4 separate regions of the Homo sapiens genome follow, and regions 1, 2 and 4 are each linked to region 3. The links are contacts of gene promoters, found by promoter capture Hi-C in blood cells and fetal thymus (Javierre and others, 2016). All regions are on one chromosome and are shown on one strand. The core of a region is centred on a gene start or on the middle of the fragment in contact, and the rest is flanking DNA. Distances in the headings are between cores, read along the strand shown.

What was found. The method cuts DNA at HindIII sites, captures the fragments that hold promoters and counts their contacts. A CHiCAGO score of 5 or more calls a contact.
Region 1: a contact is called between a fragment that was not itself captured here and the fragment with the promoter of CCSER1 in region 3, in 1 of 17 cell types (total B cells). The highest score is 5.3, in total B cells.
Region 2: a fragment that was not itself captured here is called in contact with the fragment with the promoter of CCSER1 in region 3 in 1 of 17 cell types (M2 macrophages); the score reaches 6.4 in M2 macrophages.
Region 4: a contact is called between a fragment that was not itself captured here and the fragment with the promoter of CCSER1 in region 3, in 1 of 17 cell types (M2 macrophages). The highest score is 7.6, in M2 macrophages.

What each region holds. Positions count from the first base shown.
Region 1 is chr4:90,018,536-90,022,784 of GRCh38, forward strand. No RefSeq gene overlaps it. Among named protein-coding and RNA genes, the nearest start is that of CCSER1, 110 kb to the right of the region's middle. The HindIII fragment of the contact is 6,025 bases long and covers 1-4,249 here.
Region 2 is chr4:90,239,186-90,243,073 of GRCh38, forward strand. All of the region lies in intron 1 of CCSER1 (coiled-coil serine rich protein 1), which reads left to right. Among named protein-coding and RNA genes, the nearest start is that of CCSER1, 110 kb to the left of the region's middle. The HindIII fragment of the contact is 4,187 bases long and covers 1-3,457 here.
Region 3 is chr4:90,125,358-90,129,273 of GRCh38, forward strand. It overlaps CCSER1 (coiled-coil serine rich protein 1), which reads left to right and starts at 2,037. Exons shown (of 11, transcript NM_001145065.2): 1 at 2,037-2,474. RefSeq lists silencers at 2,595-2,794, 2,905-3,154. The HindIII fragment of the contact is 6,776 bases long and covers 371-3,916 here.
Region 4 is chr4:90,213,146-90,217,418 of GRCh38, forward strand. All of the region lies in intron 1 of CCSER1 (coiled-coil serine rich protein 1), which reads left to right. Among named protein-coding and RNA genes, the nearest start is that of CCSER1, 88 kb to the left of the region's middle. The HindIII fragment of the contact is 1,029 bases long and covers 1,310-2,338 here.

The DNA.
Region 1 (4,249 bases), core at 321-2,820, 110 kb before region 3:
AACAAATTAAAAACAATAACAAATATGGTAGATATTTATTTTAAATATAAATGGCCTAAATATACCAATTAAAAGACAGAGATTGTCAGAGTGTATCAAAAAATAAAACTCAGCTATATGTTGTCTACAAGAAACTCACTTTGGACAGAGAAAAATTTACTATGTTAACACTAACCCAAAGAAAGCAGTAGTGGCCATATTAAACTTAGACAGCAGAATTCAAAGCAAGAGGAGTTACTGGGATAAAGAAGAGCATTACAAAGTTTGTTTATCCTCCACTTATGATTTATAGAGATCTCTGATCCTCATTTGCCATACCAATGCTCCCATCATCTTCCTTTTATAGATATCAGCTAAAATAGAACTTTTAGAAATCCTAGTGCTCTGCCAATCAGAAATATGAGACCAGAGAAGTTGAGTGATTTTCGTAAGATTTTTCAGCCAGCCAGATTTCTGTATGCATTACCACTGGCATGGTGAACTGTCCAGTCTCATAAACCTAGTGGACATTTTTTGGATAAGCAGGTCCACAGGTCCTTAATGCTTTGTAAATACATTCTTTAGAGGCAATTTATGAGAAGTGAAAATGAGTTTAAATATACCAGAAATGGTGTACTTAAAAAATAAATGAATAAAAATAAATAAATACACCAGTAATTATTTTATATTCTTAATACTCTCAATATGAGGTAGCTCAATAGTGCAATTCCATTACATTTATGAATCCAGCAACAGTCTTTCACACTGAGTTTTGTAGCAGTATCTTTTGTTTGAAATAATTTAAATCTGATATTTTAAACTTCTAATAAAGTTTGAAATATTTTTTAACCAGTATTCAGATTTGTTCAAAATAAATTGCAGATTATTCTTAAAATTATTTTTCTTATTGTTGTGTATTTTGATCTGAAAGTAATATATAAATTATTTTAACCTCAAAAATGAAATGTGTTTTTTATGTATACTTCATACACAGATTATTATGAATAAACTCAAGATTTCATTGACATTAAATGTGAGTGGAAATCATCATTTGTTTTGGAAACAAACATTTAAAAATCATTCCTTCTATTTTAATATATAACTACTAACTAAGCATCTAAATATAGCCTATACTGTTCCATATATGATTAGAATTATAGATTTCATCAGTCACACATTATTAGCATATTAATAATAGTTTCTATTTTAAAGGAAATCACTTTTTCTCAGCTCTCTAAGAGGATTCATAATTTATTTGTGCTGACCTGACAAATGCAGTAAAGTAGTATTAATCTATATCTGATTGTATGCTTCACAAGTGCATTATTTCTCATTACTAGACTTTAGTTCCTTCCAGATGTGTGTAAACTGATGTCCAGATCGCTTTTCAGAGTTACTTATAATGAATATTAATTTTTGTCACTCAGCTTTTCCTGAAGATGAAGGTCCTGTTGTTTAAAATAAAATATATTTTATTCTCGTCTTTTTTCTAAGAGTATCAATCACAATCAAAGGATTTCTACCCTGTCTCATTTTTATGTTTAATGGTGATGTTATTAAAAATGCACACTTATATGAAAGATTACTTTAATTAGCCAATAGAAATTCACTACAGCTATTCTTGTTACACACTAATATCTCTTGAGGAGCAACAGTTTATATTCACTTAACTCAAAAATACGAAGAGATCCTTAGTTGCATGTTGATTTTGAGGGAAGAATACTTTATCTGGTTTATCCTTGAAATAAATCCATTCTTTGCTATTTAGAGAAATCTTTGTAGCCGAATCCCTTTGATACAAAGAGGATATGATAAAATTCTAGAAAAGAATGATGTGTGTGTACTGTGAAGGTGGGTATTTTAAACCATCTAAGAGACAAGGGGAAAAAAATGAATTGATTCAAGTTCAGTAGCCAGAAGCTGAAGGTGCAGACATTTAGGTTTTTGTAGACCTTCCTAATCCCTCTTCTTCTGGCAAAAGCAGCCAAAATTCATTTTAGGAAATTGTCACGACCCAATTTTGTGTGGTCTTGATAAGACTGTAAATCAAGCCAAGGCACGGCACTTAACCTAAATAGGTGAATGAGACTTTCTCTCCATTTCACACCTATCTTCATCCCTTAGTTATTGATAGGAAAGCCTCAAGAATGTACTGGGAAAAGTCATTGGTAATCTAGATGCTGTGGCAGAAGTACATTGCAGGATTGGTTAATTATAATTTTATAACTTAGTACATACCTGGTTAAAGTATTATGGAAGAAAGTTTACTATAATATGAACTCCATTTTGTTTCTTCTCAAGAGAGGGAACATTTTCTTGAATTGCCATGAAATAGACCCTCAAATTACAGTTTGAAGGCTTAGGAGCATCATGGGCACTGTGCCACCAGGGTTAATCAGTTACATCATCCTGAGATTGTCCTCTCACCTACAATGCTAAATGTATGGATTAGAGAAATGCTCAGCTACTGGAGGGCACAGGGTGGATGTGTGGACCAAGATAGAGCTAGACTAGATGGAAAGTGTGATCAAGTGTCTGTTTGAAAAACCGTCCATGGAATATGGTGGAACAATGCAGGAGCATATAGGATGTTTTAGAAACAATTGATGCTGTCGATCAAAATCTGCAGGACTTCGGTCCTAAAGTTTTCCAATACCTTGGACATTTATCCACTAAGAAAATGTATATTATAACCATAGATCTGTCTGAACACAACTGGTCATGATATTTTTCTTTACATATGGCTACTCTATAAAATTAACTTAATTTTACCAAAAAAAAAAAAAAAAATAGGCCAGGTGCAGTGGCACATGCCTGTAATCCTAGCACTTTGGGAGGCCCTAGGCAGGCAGATTGCCTGAGTTCAGGAGTTTGAGACTAGCCTGGGCAACATGGTGAAACCCCATCTCTGCCAAAATACAAAAAATTAACCAGGCATTGTGGCAGGTGCCTGTAGTCTCAGCTACTCGGGAGGCTGAGGCAGGAGAACTGCTTGAACCAGGGAGGCAGTGGTTGCAGTTAGCCACTCACTGCACTCCAGCCTGGGCAACAGAGCCAGCCTCTGTCTCAAAAAAATAAACAAAACTTATTTAATTTTAAAAAACTAAAAATCACCTCTGACTATAGAATCTTACCTTGCTTGAAAATGCAAAGCATCAGCGAGTATTATAACTAACTACTCTGCACCACTAGATTTCATAGGAAAACAAAATAACCTAGAAAATGGAAAAAAATGAAAAAACAAAAAAACCCCAGAATTCTTTATCTTAATAATGGCATGGGACTGCCACTCACCCCAGAGCACTTCCTGGATATTCAAAGTGAGGTTAAAGAGCATAGTCACATTGCCTTCACACAGCAAACTGGAAGTAGCCCTATAAGGGAGGCCACTAGCAAGATTTCCAGTGGCAGTAAGACTTGTCTGTTTTCTCTTCCTGAAAATAAAGCATAGTACCACGAGGGCATCTCACTCCATCCAAAACTCTCCTTATCCTTCAGAGGAAGTCTAACTATATTCTAGAGACTTCAGCCCTATATATAAGTGGAAGAATTACAACTGAGTTTTTGGCTTTTGGTCCCTCATAGTAGTCATTACTTCCCTTTACATCAATGTTACTTAAAGTTTACAACAATTTAAGGCTCATTGCAAATGACATGGATAGCCTGCAATTCTGATGATCTGATGGTGCCTTGGTTAGGTACCCTCTGTCTATTAACAGGTTTTTCACATTATTTCAAATTTGGCTTTCACCCTTTCTAACATATTCTCAAAGAACATGTATACCAATTGTTATATCTGTAATTTTCTTTTTTATGCATTTGCCACCTAATAACTAAACAGTCACCCCTTGAATTTCTATGTCCTTAATTTGGTGTACAAGTTGACCTTATTTTTGTTATATTCATAAGAGCTTAAACTTCATCTTTATGGTCCTTTTTCTGATCAACTGTGTCATGTCTCTTGCTGTATTTCCTTACCTCAGACACTTTTACATCTTGCTGCACTACCCTTCCATCTGGCAAATGGCCTTTTATGACTTTTTACTTACAAAATTGGCATGCTTCTGTGTTCTGAATATTTTCTGTATTATACGTATACTTCCTACATATATTAAAATCATTGTGTATCTCTTCAATATCACTTTTTGGCAGATTAGTGTTTCAATTTTTTTCTAAGAAAACATAAACATAATATCTGAATGGATTGGATGTCTGTTAAAGCTGCTAGGCTACTAATAAATAAATCTACTAATGAACATCAGTGTTACTG
Region 2 (3,888 bases), core at 114-2,613, 110 kb after region 3:
TAGTTGTTTAACATGATTAAAAGCACACTTGGACTTTAATTAGGAAACAATAAACATACATCCCATAGGAGTTAATCTTTGTAAACAACACCAATTTTGAAGGCTACAGTCAGTTATATTGATCACTTCAGTGATACTGAGACATATACTGCACTTTATGCATTGATCTTTGACATAGAAAGATCAGCACGTTAATGTAAAAAATTGCCACTATGTATTTGAAATTTAAGCCCTACTATTAGCTAATATTCAAAATAACTCATTTACTTGATACTGTAATGTGTAGTCAACTGATTTTTCCTTTTAAATAGATTGATCTGTTATATATATATTAGAGGCAGAGTCTCACTCTGTCACTTAGGCTGGAGAGCAGTGGTACAATTATGGTTCACTGCAGCTTCCAACTCCTGGGCACAAACAGTCCTCCTGCCTTAGCCACCACTATGCTCAGCTAATTATTTTTAATTTTTTTTTGTAAATGTGGGCTCTTGCATTGTTGCTCAGTCTAATCTCGAACGCCTGGTCTCAAGTGACTCCTGCTTCAGCCTCCCAAAGTACTGGGATTATAGGCACGATCCTGCACCTGCCCCAATTCTGTATTTTTATTTGTTCTTAGTTGTAGCTTGTAATTATTTCCAAATGTGAATCATAATCAGATTGATTCAATACCAAGTTTTAGAAGAATTGTGTATCAACTAGTCCACTTTGAAGAGGAAAACCACATAGTAGGTTAAACTAGTGAGTTTAATTTAAAAATATTATTAAAGTATGACAAAAGAGTAACTTCTCTCTAAGATATAGAGAAACCTAAGTGGTACCCTGAAGCTAAAGGAGTGTAACCAAAGAATGACAAACTTGGAAGAGGATCAGATCTTAAAGAGAAGGTGTAATTCATCTCACTGGAGAGCAGAGAAGTTTTCGAGTTTGGCTGAGCATCCAGAGATGGCCCATAGTCATGGGGCAAGCTGGCGGCCAGTAGAATAGTCGGCATGGATAACCAAACCAGTGGCTATGTTTCAGAGGACATGAGCACCCTCCAGGGAAGAGTATGGGGCCTGTAGTGGACTCAGTAGGACTCAGGAGGACTGCCAGAGGGGAGGGGGCTTCAGGTAGATGGCCCATAGCCCTACAGAGGGAATTCTGACTCTGATGGGCATTTCTTTCTGGAGAAGGCCTTGGGAAGATTGTCTCTAGCTTGAGACTGCAAGATTGGCAAGCAACCACACGTTCTTATACCCTGCATGGCTTGGCAGGGCTACACTGAATGTCCTCACACCTCTACCCAAATCACTGACTCCTGTGTCACCAGAAGTCATGGAAGAGCCCCTTCCTCCTGCAGTGTCCCTCCAGCTTCCTCTACTGGGAACACTCAGCATCACACCCATTGTAAAGAAGAAATACTTAAAAGAATTCTATCTATGATCATAGGACATATATTTGTGGAAAAGTGCATTTGGAGCTGGGAGGCAATTAATTCATAACTAGCACACATTGCCTTACATTTAGGTGCTGGTTATAGCTAATATTGTGGCAAAAATGACAACTCTAAATGCCGTAAGAATGTCATGTTGCTTTCAGGTGCCCAATTTTAGCCCCTTGGACTTGTCCATCTGGATTAGTCACATTATCCTAGTTTTCAGTAGCTGATCTTAGGCCTGTGCTTATTTTTCACCATATCCTTCAAAGACACCACCTATAGCTCTCTGCAGTGGGAATGAAAGCCTGTCTACATATACCACTGTAAATATGCTCAAATTCTTTGAGTGTTTGAGCAGCTTTAGTCAAAGGAATTCATGGTGTATCAATAGACTCTATTCTAATTAAAACCATTTAAATCACTTTTATAAGCAAGTGAGGAAACTGTTTAGCCCCAGAGTGTGCACTAGTAATAGCACATAGTTCATTTCACAAAGCTAAAGAGCAATATTGATGATAGGGCACTAAGGAGCATGCGAGTGCATAGATCAATTTGTTACTAGTCAGTCATTGTTTTTCTCTGTTATTAGTACAACCACTATTGTGGTTTAGGTGAGAAAATGTTATTAGTGACTGCTTTCTGGTGCTTTATAGGTGCTATCATTTACTTTCATGTTCATATACTGTTGTAATCATGTATGAATGAGTTGCCAACTATTATATATTATGTATACGTAAGAGACAGGTAAAGAGGTGCATGCCGGTATCAAATATGATATTTACAAAGATACATATTAATAATTCCTAGATAATGGTGGTTTATTATGAACGACAGTAACAGCTAGATGGTAAATCATTCACAATATTTATGTCTATTGTTGCTTTAACATAGGAATTACCAATGGCAATCACATTTTATTTTCCTAGCAGCCAGAACACTTTTGTTATACATCATTTATTCTTTCTTAAAAGAAAAAAAATCCTTTCTAGAAACACTGTTATTCCTTTGACAATTTGCTTTGGATTTGTAATCTTTCCTTAGGGTGTTATTTTTTTTTCTTTAGGGAAAAGAAGGAAAGGGATACACGTGGTTAAAAAAATGCCAACATGAATAAATCCAACAGATAAATTGTTAGCAATTACATTTTTAAGAGTGTTGCAGGAGCATTAACATTGAGAAACTAATACTTAAGTACAAATGGTTTAATTGTAATATGGAAAATAGGTGATGCTATAAAAACTATTATGATTCATATCTATAAAATTAGTAATGGAATGATTATAGGACAAGAAATATGCTTTGGTATGAAATTGTATTCTAAGAATCTTCTATCATCAAATCTAGTTAGTTAAATCTACTAACCCTGAATTTAAGATCTGTGAATGAATTTACCTTTATCTACCATGAAAATAACAAAGCATAGGCTGGGCGCAGTGGCTCCCACCTATAATCCCAGCACTTTTGGAAGCCGAGGTGGGCAGATCACTTGAGGTCAGGAGTTCAAGACCAGCCTGGCCAACATGGTGAAATCCGGTCTTACTAAAAATAAAAAAAATTAGCTGGGCATGGTGGTGCATGCCTGTAATCCCAGTTACTTGGGAGGTTGAGGCAGGAGAATCATCTGAGCATGGGAGACGGAGCTTGCAGTGAGCCGAGATTGTGCCAGTGCACTCTAGCCTGGGCTACAGAGCAAGACTCCGTCTCAAAAAGAAAAGAAAAGAAAAGAACAAAGCATAAATGTAGTGGACCTAGGAGTACTCTTAGGCACTATTCCCAATGTTAAGGAACTTAAAATCTGTAGCTTTTAAACTGTTGATATTTTTTATACTATAGTACGAAGAAATGTACAAAATAATTGAGTCAAAAGTATACAATTTATTTAGAACAAAAAAGCATATGAAAAGGATGATGATAATAAATGAGTGTATTGAAGAGATAATAAAATGATGGACAAGAACATGAACCTAGTGAACAATGTAGTAAGCTATCAGTTAGCAGATAACCACAAAATGCATCATTTCCATGGCTCTGTGAAAACTAAGCTTACAAAAATGATTTTTCCCCTTTGGTTATAAGGATAACAATTAATTATAGAGCACGTTTATTGAGTGTCCACTAGGTATGTGACTGATATGCACACAATTAGTTGTTTTTACTGATCGTTTCACTAAGATACAAATTATTCAGGACCTGTTGTAAGTTTTAAATACAAGTTCAAACACCACAAGGGACTTGCACAAGGTCATACAGCCAAAAGTAATGAACAGAGATACAAATCTTAGATTGCACATCCTCAAAGCCCAGGCCCTTTCTACTACATAGTGTGGCTTCTAAAAATTAAAAATAGTGAAACTGCTTGGTTCTTGATGTGCTGGGGACTTGATAATTTCATAAATTCCATGTGGAATTTAAAGACTGAATATTCAGCTAGTTGATCTCTCTCTCTTTTCTCTCTCTCTCTTTTTTTTTTT
Region 3 (3,916 bases), core at 787-3,286:
AGCCCTAAAAAACATTAACATTTCATAAATCGCTCTTGCATTGTAAAAAGAAGGAGGGAGGTAGAAGAAAAATGCCAAAGGATTGTAGGTCAGCTTATTTCATAAACAAAAGCTCTAAGGAAAGTCCTGAGATTTTTAAGTAAGCCAGGCCTTCTGAATGGGACATGATATGGACAGTAGAATAAGACAGATTGAGTTCCATTGACATTATTTATTCTTTGTATGATCTTAGGTTATCTACACACACTTTCAAAATTTAACTTTCTTGGTCTGTAAAATTGAGGAAATAATAATAGCTGTCCCATAGGGCACACTATCAATCCCAATATGCTTTGTTAGTCCATTCATTTTTCCAGTGCTTAATCAAAGAAGCTTTAATGGCCTATATACTTATATTATTGATATATTCACGCACCTGTCCCAACTTGCTGTCCTTTCCAATATCACTTTGTTTTTATCACACTCCTTAATATCACTTCTTTGTTAGGTCTTGATCACATGCTTAAATCATTTTTAATGTTTGCTAAACTCTGTATGAGAGATTGAAGAATTACGAGACAGGAACATCAATGTGAAAGGGTAAAATATGTGGAGAATATATAAGGTGCCAGCATATGACAAAACCCTAAAGATGTACGATGGTCACAAGCCATGGAAGAAGATAGGACAACTGAATTGTCAACCTTGCCGCCTCCTCCGTAGCCTCCTAAATCTTATCTTCCTTTTGTCTAATTTATGAAAAATGTTTCCTATAATTGTCTCCCAAAAGCAGAGTTGTCCCCATGCTGTAATATACATTGACCACTCAGATTCATTTAAAAAATACATCTTGCTTTTATTCCCAATATAACCACATTTCAGAAGTTAGATCATAGCCAGTTAGATTACACAGAGCGTGCGCACGCGCACGCGCACACACAAACACACCTTGAAAAAACTGTAGATCACTTGATTTCTGGAAGTTTTTCTCAATACCTCAGTGCACCTGATCACAACATCTTGTAATCTGGGCAGAAGGTAAGGGAGGTGATGTTAGGCGTACAAACTTAATATTGGGGATGCATTTTCTACCTAGAAATGGTCCTACATTCTACCAGAATGGGTTAAAAACAGATGCGCGCGCGCACACACACACACACACACACACAGAATTAAATGCACTACATTTGCTGTATTGCCTGCTAAAGGCATAAATATACTGGAGTGGAGATAAAGAAGGGGATGGATGGGAAAGAGTTCAGTACTTAGTGTAAACCTGAAAGGAAATGAGGCAGTGCAAGGGGAGAGAGGATCAGGGGAAAATAAATTATGTAGGCAACAGAACCATGCATCAAAAGTCTTTTCGATTTCTAAACTGGCAAATTTTCTCCAGGGGACCATCAGTCAAATGATGTCAAATTGAGCTGATTCTCTTGTAATGCCTGTATTGTGTAGGGCCTTCCTTGTAGGAACACAAGTTCCACTCTCGGACACAGTCGCAGTGCTTGCATTATCTTACAGAATTGATTGCTGCAAATGGTTCCTGGGAGGTGTGACCTGCTTAAAGGAAAGAAGCTAGGTTTCTTTTCTTGTTACTGAGGAATGAAGACACTTGTCAGGATGTGAATTGTGTGGGTGAGAAGGAAAAGCGGCGAAAGAATCTGGTAATTCCTTCCCTTACAGGAGGAAGAGAAAAAAGATAACATCGGAACCTTGGAGAGGAGAAATACAGTGCATTTATTTCCAGCATCCCCGCAGTCACTTCACGTCTCTTCAGACTTCCCCTATTCTTTAGTCTTGACCTGCCTATGCACTTGAACTCCACATAAGCACTAGGATGGACTGGGGGAAAAGGCCAGGTCAGCACGGTGGGATACTGCTTCCCCTAAAATGAAAACTCAGCAGCGGGCCAGCAGTGGGTGTGCGCGCGTCGATGCCAGAGGATGCGTGCGTGGAATCCGGCGGACGCAGTGGGCCGGGCACCGCCCTCCAAGCCGCCCCGCCCAGCCCACCACACTCCTCCTTGTATAAAGGCCGCGCTTGGGCCCGCCCTCCTCACAGCCCCGGAGCGCGGCCTGCCGGGGAGGTGGATCTCGCGCTCCCCACACAGTCACACTCCGCGCACTCACACACTTGGAAGCGCCTCCCCACGTCCCTCCCCTGCCCTCCTCTTGCTCTGCTCTTCTCTCCCTCACCACAAATAGTCGCCGACCTACTGCCAATCCGCCTCTCCTCTCTCTCTCTCTCTGTCTCAACATGACTGACTGGGAAGCGGTGGCTCGGGCAGAGCAGCTCCGCTGGCGCAGGCAGGAGGAGCAGGAGGATTATTAAATAACGCAGCTGGACTCTGTGCAACTGGGAGTGGAGAGGAGCCCAACAGCCGAGAAGGGGAGGGAGGGCAGAGGAGGGGGACCAGGAAGGACACCCCCGTGCCCCGAAGACATAAATCCCTGAGTGCCCGGGAGGAGCCTTAACAAGCGCACGGAGCCCTCAAGGTAGTAACGCCCCTGGTGCCTCAGCGCTCAGCGGGTCGCGCGTCGCGTCGCCGCTTTGCGGGGCCGGCCGCAGGCGGACGCGGGGATGACCGCTCGGCAGGTGACCGCGCCGTGTCGGGGCCGCCTGCGAGCAGCGCGCGCCCAGGCCCGGCGTGCTCGGCGCAGAGACCTGGCCTTGCGGGCGGGGTGGGAAGGAGGCGGGCGGGCTCGCTCACCACCGGCCCGCGACTCCCAGTGCGCCGCGTGGCCATTTCCTCCACGCTGCTGCGTGGTTTGCTGCCTGCGGCCGCGGCGGCCGCTCCAGGGCGATGCGGAGCGCTGGCCAAGGCGGCGAGAGTTGGCGCAGGCTTCGGGTCGCTCCCCTTCCTCGCCACTCGCGTCCCGCAGGTAGAGGCGACCGGTCAGCGCTGGCGCCCCGGGCTGCGGGTGCTGAGGCGGGGACGGCGGCGAAGAGGGGGAAGGGGAGGAGGGGGCGGGGAGCCAGGGGCTCCCGGAGGAACCGCAGTGCGGGGCCGGGACCACCTCTTGCCTCCGCCTGCTTGTCCTCTGGCGCCAGTTTCCTGGATTGGAAGCAAGACCCTGCCCAGAGGCAGCAGTAACGGCAGCGACTTAGATTGAACCACTTGCTTTGTGGTGGAGCGTCAAGGGCCCCAGGTTGTGTGCGTGTGTGTGTGTGTGTGTGTGTGCGCGCGCGCGCGCGCTCTGGACTAACCAGTGGGTTGGTTCACCTGAGCAGAAAGTCAGCCGTAAGCTGAAACCGCATGTGGCCCCCTGGCCCCTTCGACTTTTGGCTTGTGTCCCAGGGACTCGTACACACGGTGCCAGCAAGGGGTAAGGGTGACGGAGGGATTTGTGAATGGTGCTTCTGCGTGCGTGGAGGCTGAGCCTTGCTGATGTAAAGGAGGAGGTATCCAGAGTGAGAAGAAAGGCTATTTATGGCAAAGAGTTGTGAAATTTCTTGGGGTTTCCTTTTAGTGTATCCTGAACTGCTCTCTTTCTCTCTCTCTCTCTCTCCTCTCCCTGCCTCAGAATTAGAAGCAATTATGCTTCCCCTTCCTCTCGTGGGACATGGAATATGAAATGAAGTAAAAAAAAAACTCATATTTTTACAGGTAGAAAAAAATACTTCTTAGAAGTTACAGATTCTTTGCCCTTTAATGTTTTTATGTCCTCTTCTCCACCCCTCTTACCTTTTCAGGCAGTCAGTAGGACTTACAAGTCAGAAAATACCTACTTGGTTTCAACAGCTTTCATTTCTGAAATCTTTACAGTTGAATACCTTCCTATTGAAATGTAACACACATCCTCCCTTCTCTGCCCCTCAAGGACTATTAAAAATAATGTGTACACGTTTAAAGTAAAGCTGGTTTTATTAACAGCCTTAGGGAAAACGGATAAGAGGACACCTAGGTGGGGGTCAGTTATCACTGGTTCCTTCAAAA
Region 4 (4,273 bases), core at 574-3,073, 88 kb after region 3:
GGGTAATCAGGAGAAAGCAATGGTAGCTGACAGGGTGGTAGCAGTGGAGAGAGAGTCATAAGGAATTGCTAGAGGATTAATATGAAGTGTGTGAGAAAGGGACATAGGATGCCTGGTTTTTAGATTGGACTGTAAATATGGAATTGCCATTTTCTGAGATGGGGAAGGAGATTGTGAGATGAGCAAGTATTTGGAGGAAAACCAGGTATTTCCTTTGGGATGTGGTAAGGTTGAGATGTCTATTGGACATCTAAGTGAAAATGTTGAGTAGGCCATAGAATATGTGATTCTGGATTTCACAGGCTAGATCTGGGCTGGGGATAGAGATTTGGAAGTCCACGGTATATAGCTGGGCATTTACCACGTGGAACTAGGTGAGATCACCTGGCAGAGGGGTGTACATAATAAAGAGGAGAGGTCCACGAACTGAACTCTGAGGAGTGTGCACTTGTGGAGATTGTGGAAACTATGAAGAAGAACCAGCAAATGCTTGGTGAGGGACAAGCCAAGAAGTGAGGAGGAAAACCAGGAGAGTTTGTTGTACTCGACGCCAAGTAAGGAAAGTACATCAAGAAGGGATTAGTCAACACTGACAGATGCTAGTTCTTAAATAAGGTGAGGACTGAATTTAGCAGTGGTCTTAGCAATATGAAGATCATTCATTACTTGGACAAAAGCTGCTTCATTGAAATTGTGGTGACAAAAACTTGACTGGAATATCTTTAAATGAAAATTGGAGAAAACAGAAGTAGAGACAGAAAGGATGAGAGATGCTTTTGAATGATTTAGCCATAAAAGAGAGAATAGAATAAGTCAATAGCTGGAGGGAGGAGAGGGATTAAGGAATTTTTGTTTGTTTTTAAGGTTAATACATTATGTTTATAAGGAATAATCTGAATAAATTTGTAGGCAATAATCTAAAGAAGATAAAATTAACCATGTAATGGAGAAGGAATGCAATTTCTGGAATGAGGCGATTAATTTGCTGAGAGGGGATGGAACGCAGTGCAAATATGGGAGAGCTGGCCTTGGATAGACACAGGAGGTGTTTATCTTTAGCAGTGGTAAGAAAGGGAGATTACATGGACAGAGTTGCAAGTGGATTGGGAATGTGGAACTAGGAGTCTATAGAAGTTCTTTTCAAAATGCTTCTATGTTTTCAGTAATAGACCAATGTGAGAGTGAGGATAATAGGAGAAGGTGTTGGAGGTTTGAGAGGAGAGTAAAGAATATGAATATATCACCTAGGCGAGTTAGGGATGCACTAATAGGATTGCTGGAGAGCACCCAGGGAAACGCTGGAGATTAAAGCTTATGATTCTAAAATGTGATCACTCAGCATAATCAGTAAATATTGTTCACAAAAATGAATTAACTGTGAATTTCTCAGTTATTTTGACATCATGTAGCCATGCAGTTGCTAGGTCATTACAAGGCAATAAAAAGTAGATGTATTTCCTAAAGAAATACTGTAAGATCTGGCCAAGTCAGTGGATTTGCTACATAACAAAGGCACAATCAGAGTTTCTGCTAATTCAGTCCTAGATGAGAGTAAATTGTGAAATTAGAACAATCATATAGGCTTTTGAGATAACAGACTTTAAAAAAACATTTTTCTACTTTTATAAATGAAGAAGCTGAGGTCCAGAGAGGTTAAAGGATTCCCTTGTTGTGAATCACATTACCTTTTACAAAGAATTTTGAATATTCTAGTAAATATGCTCTTCCAGGAATGTTACATTTTATTCTAATTTTATTCCTTTTAATATAGCATTCCTGTTAGGTTTTTCAATTTGTGTTTGATTGTACAGTTATGTAAATTCTTTTTGACAGATTTGTTATTAAGGGAAGAAAGATGAGTATGAATTCTAACAGCTCATTAATTTTAAAGAAATGTGTCATGAATTAATGCTTTGAGTGCTATATTTTTCTCTTTACATTATGTTTTTCTGGTTGAATAGAATTCTATCAAAATAAATAGGTTATTTAAAAATGATTAGGTAGGAGCTATATAAAGATTCTCCTAAGCATGTTCACCGTTCCTGAGAAATAGGTTGAATGTAATACCCAACTAGTGAAGCATTATCATCAGCAATACATGATTACATTGTAGCCTTTCTTTACAAAGCTAGTTATAAAAAATATTTTCTTTGTAAAAGGTTTTCAAAGTGTCTTTCACTTGAGTGAGCATTTAGTGAATTAAAGTCCTTTCACCAAAGTATATATTTCTTAAGCATATTGACTACAAAAAGGATGTCCTTGACCTACTTGTTTACAGGAAGTGAAATCAGTTACTTTCGACCTTTAGTATAGTAGCAAGTTTAATGAGGGGTGAGTAAGCTTTCACTGTATAGATTTCAACATCACCTGACTTTCTTGAAGTTCAGGAAAAACACCATTTATCTCAGTTTAAAAATATGCACACCTGGTTAAAAAAAATAAAAGCAAGTTCACACTCCTCTGTGCTCTATTTGACAGATAAAATATACACAGGGCACTAGTGATCAAATGTGGGTCAAAGTATCTGCTTTAATAATGGGCAAGATAGTTCCCAATAATTTCAAAATATAGAACTTTCTGGCAAAGGTGCAATGGAAAATGTATCTTAGACCTGAGGCTAAATTGAAAACCTGCCTCAGATCTAATCTTTGGAACCCCAGATCTAATCTTTGGAACCCACTCACTGTCCAACAGGCTTTACTACCTGAGAACATGAAGCAGGAGAGAAGGGCAGGGGCGAGGTGGGGGCCTGCACAGGGTCAGGATGTAGGAGGTGCAGAAGACAGAGTTTGTAGTGTGTGTGAATATGTGTGTGTGTTCTGTATGTACGTGGATAATATCTAATGAATTCCGCTCACCAACTGTGAAAAATTCTGATGGATAAAATTTGTCACTCTTTATCCCTGAAGAGATTTGAATAAGTTGGTAGAAAGGAGCAGAAACTTTTTATATAACACAGACCCTTGCTACTCAAATGTGTGGTGGTTCTTGAATCAGCACCGTCTGCATCACCTGGAAGCTTGTTAGAAATGCAGAATTTAAGGCTTAATCCCGGACCTACTGAATCAGAATGCGCTTTTTAACAATACTTCTCTCTACTCCTGGGTGATTGATTCATGCATTGAATTTGAAAAGCGCTTCACTAGTTGCCAGATGTTTTGCTCTAAATTCCTTCTTCTGTGTACTAAGGCATAATATAGGAAAGACTCAAAGGATTTCTCCCTACAGCTGGAGTTCATAAGCTTCCATTATTGAAGTGAGGTGTATAGTGTTTTTGAGATAGTCCAGTGGATGGGAATGTTTTTAAGATCTTTCAACTACAAAACTGTGACAGTCAGAGCAACTTATATTAAAGATGTGCACATTACAGTTCTGTATTAGATATCATTTATAAAAGAGATTTCCATTGACTTTGTTGAAGATCAGATGGCTGTAGGTGTGTGACTTTGTTTCTGGGTTCTCTAGTCTGTTTCATTGATCTATGCATCTTTTTTTGTACCAGTACCATCCTGTTTTGGCTACTGTAGCATTATAGTATAGTTTGAAGTCCATAGTACAGTGTGATGCTTCCAGCTTTGTTCTTTTTGTTTAGGATTTCTTTGGATATTTAGGCTGGTTTTCGGTTCCATATGAATTTTAGAATCATTTTTCTTCTAATTCTGTGATAAATGATGTTGGTCACTTGGCAACCAACAGGAATAGCATTGAATCTGGAGGTTTCCTTTGGCAGTATGACAATTTTAACAATGATTGATTCTTCCGACCCTTGAACATGGGATGTTTTCCATTTGTTTTTGTCATCTGTGATTTCTTTTAGCAGTGTTTTGTAGTTCTCCTTGTAGTGATCTTTTACGTCCTTGGTTAGATTTATTCCTAGGTATTTAATTTTTTTGTGTGTTGCTGTTGTAAATGAGATTACATTCTTGATTTGACTTGGATGTTATTGGTGTATAGCAGTGCTACTAATTTTCGTACATTGATTTTGTATCCTGAAACTTTCCTGAAGTCATTTATCAGCTCCAGGAGCCTTTTGGTGGAGTCTTTAGACGTTTTTTTGTTTTTTATTTTTGAGATGGAGTCTTGCTCCATTTCCCAGGCTGGAGTGCAGTGGTGCGATCTCGGCTCACTGCAGCCTCCACCTCCGGGGTTCAAGTGATTCTCTTGCCTCAGCCTCCTGAGTAGCTGGAATTACAGGTGCCTGCCACCATGCCTGGCTAATTTTTGTATTTTTTTAGTAGAAACAGGGTTTCATCATGTTGGCCAGGCTGGTCTC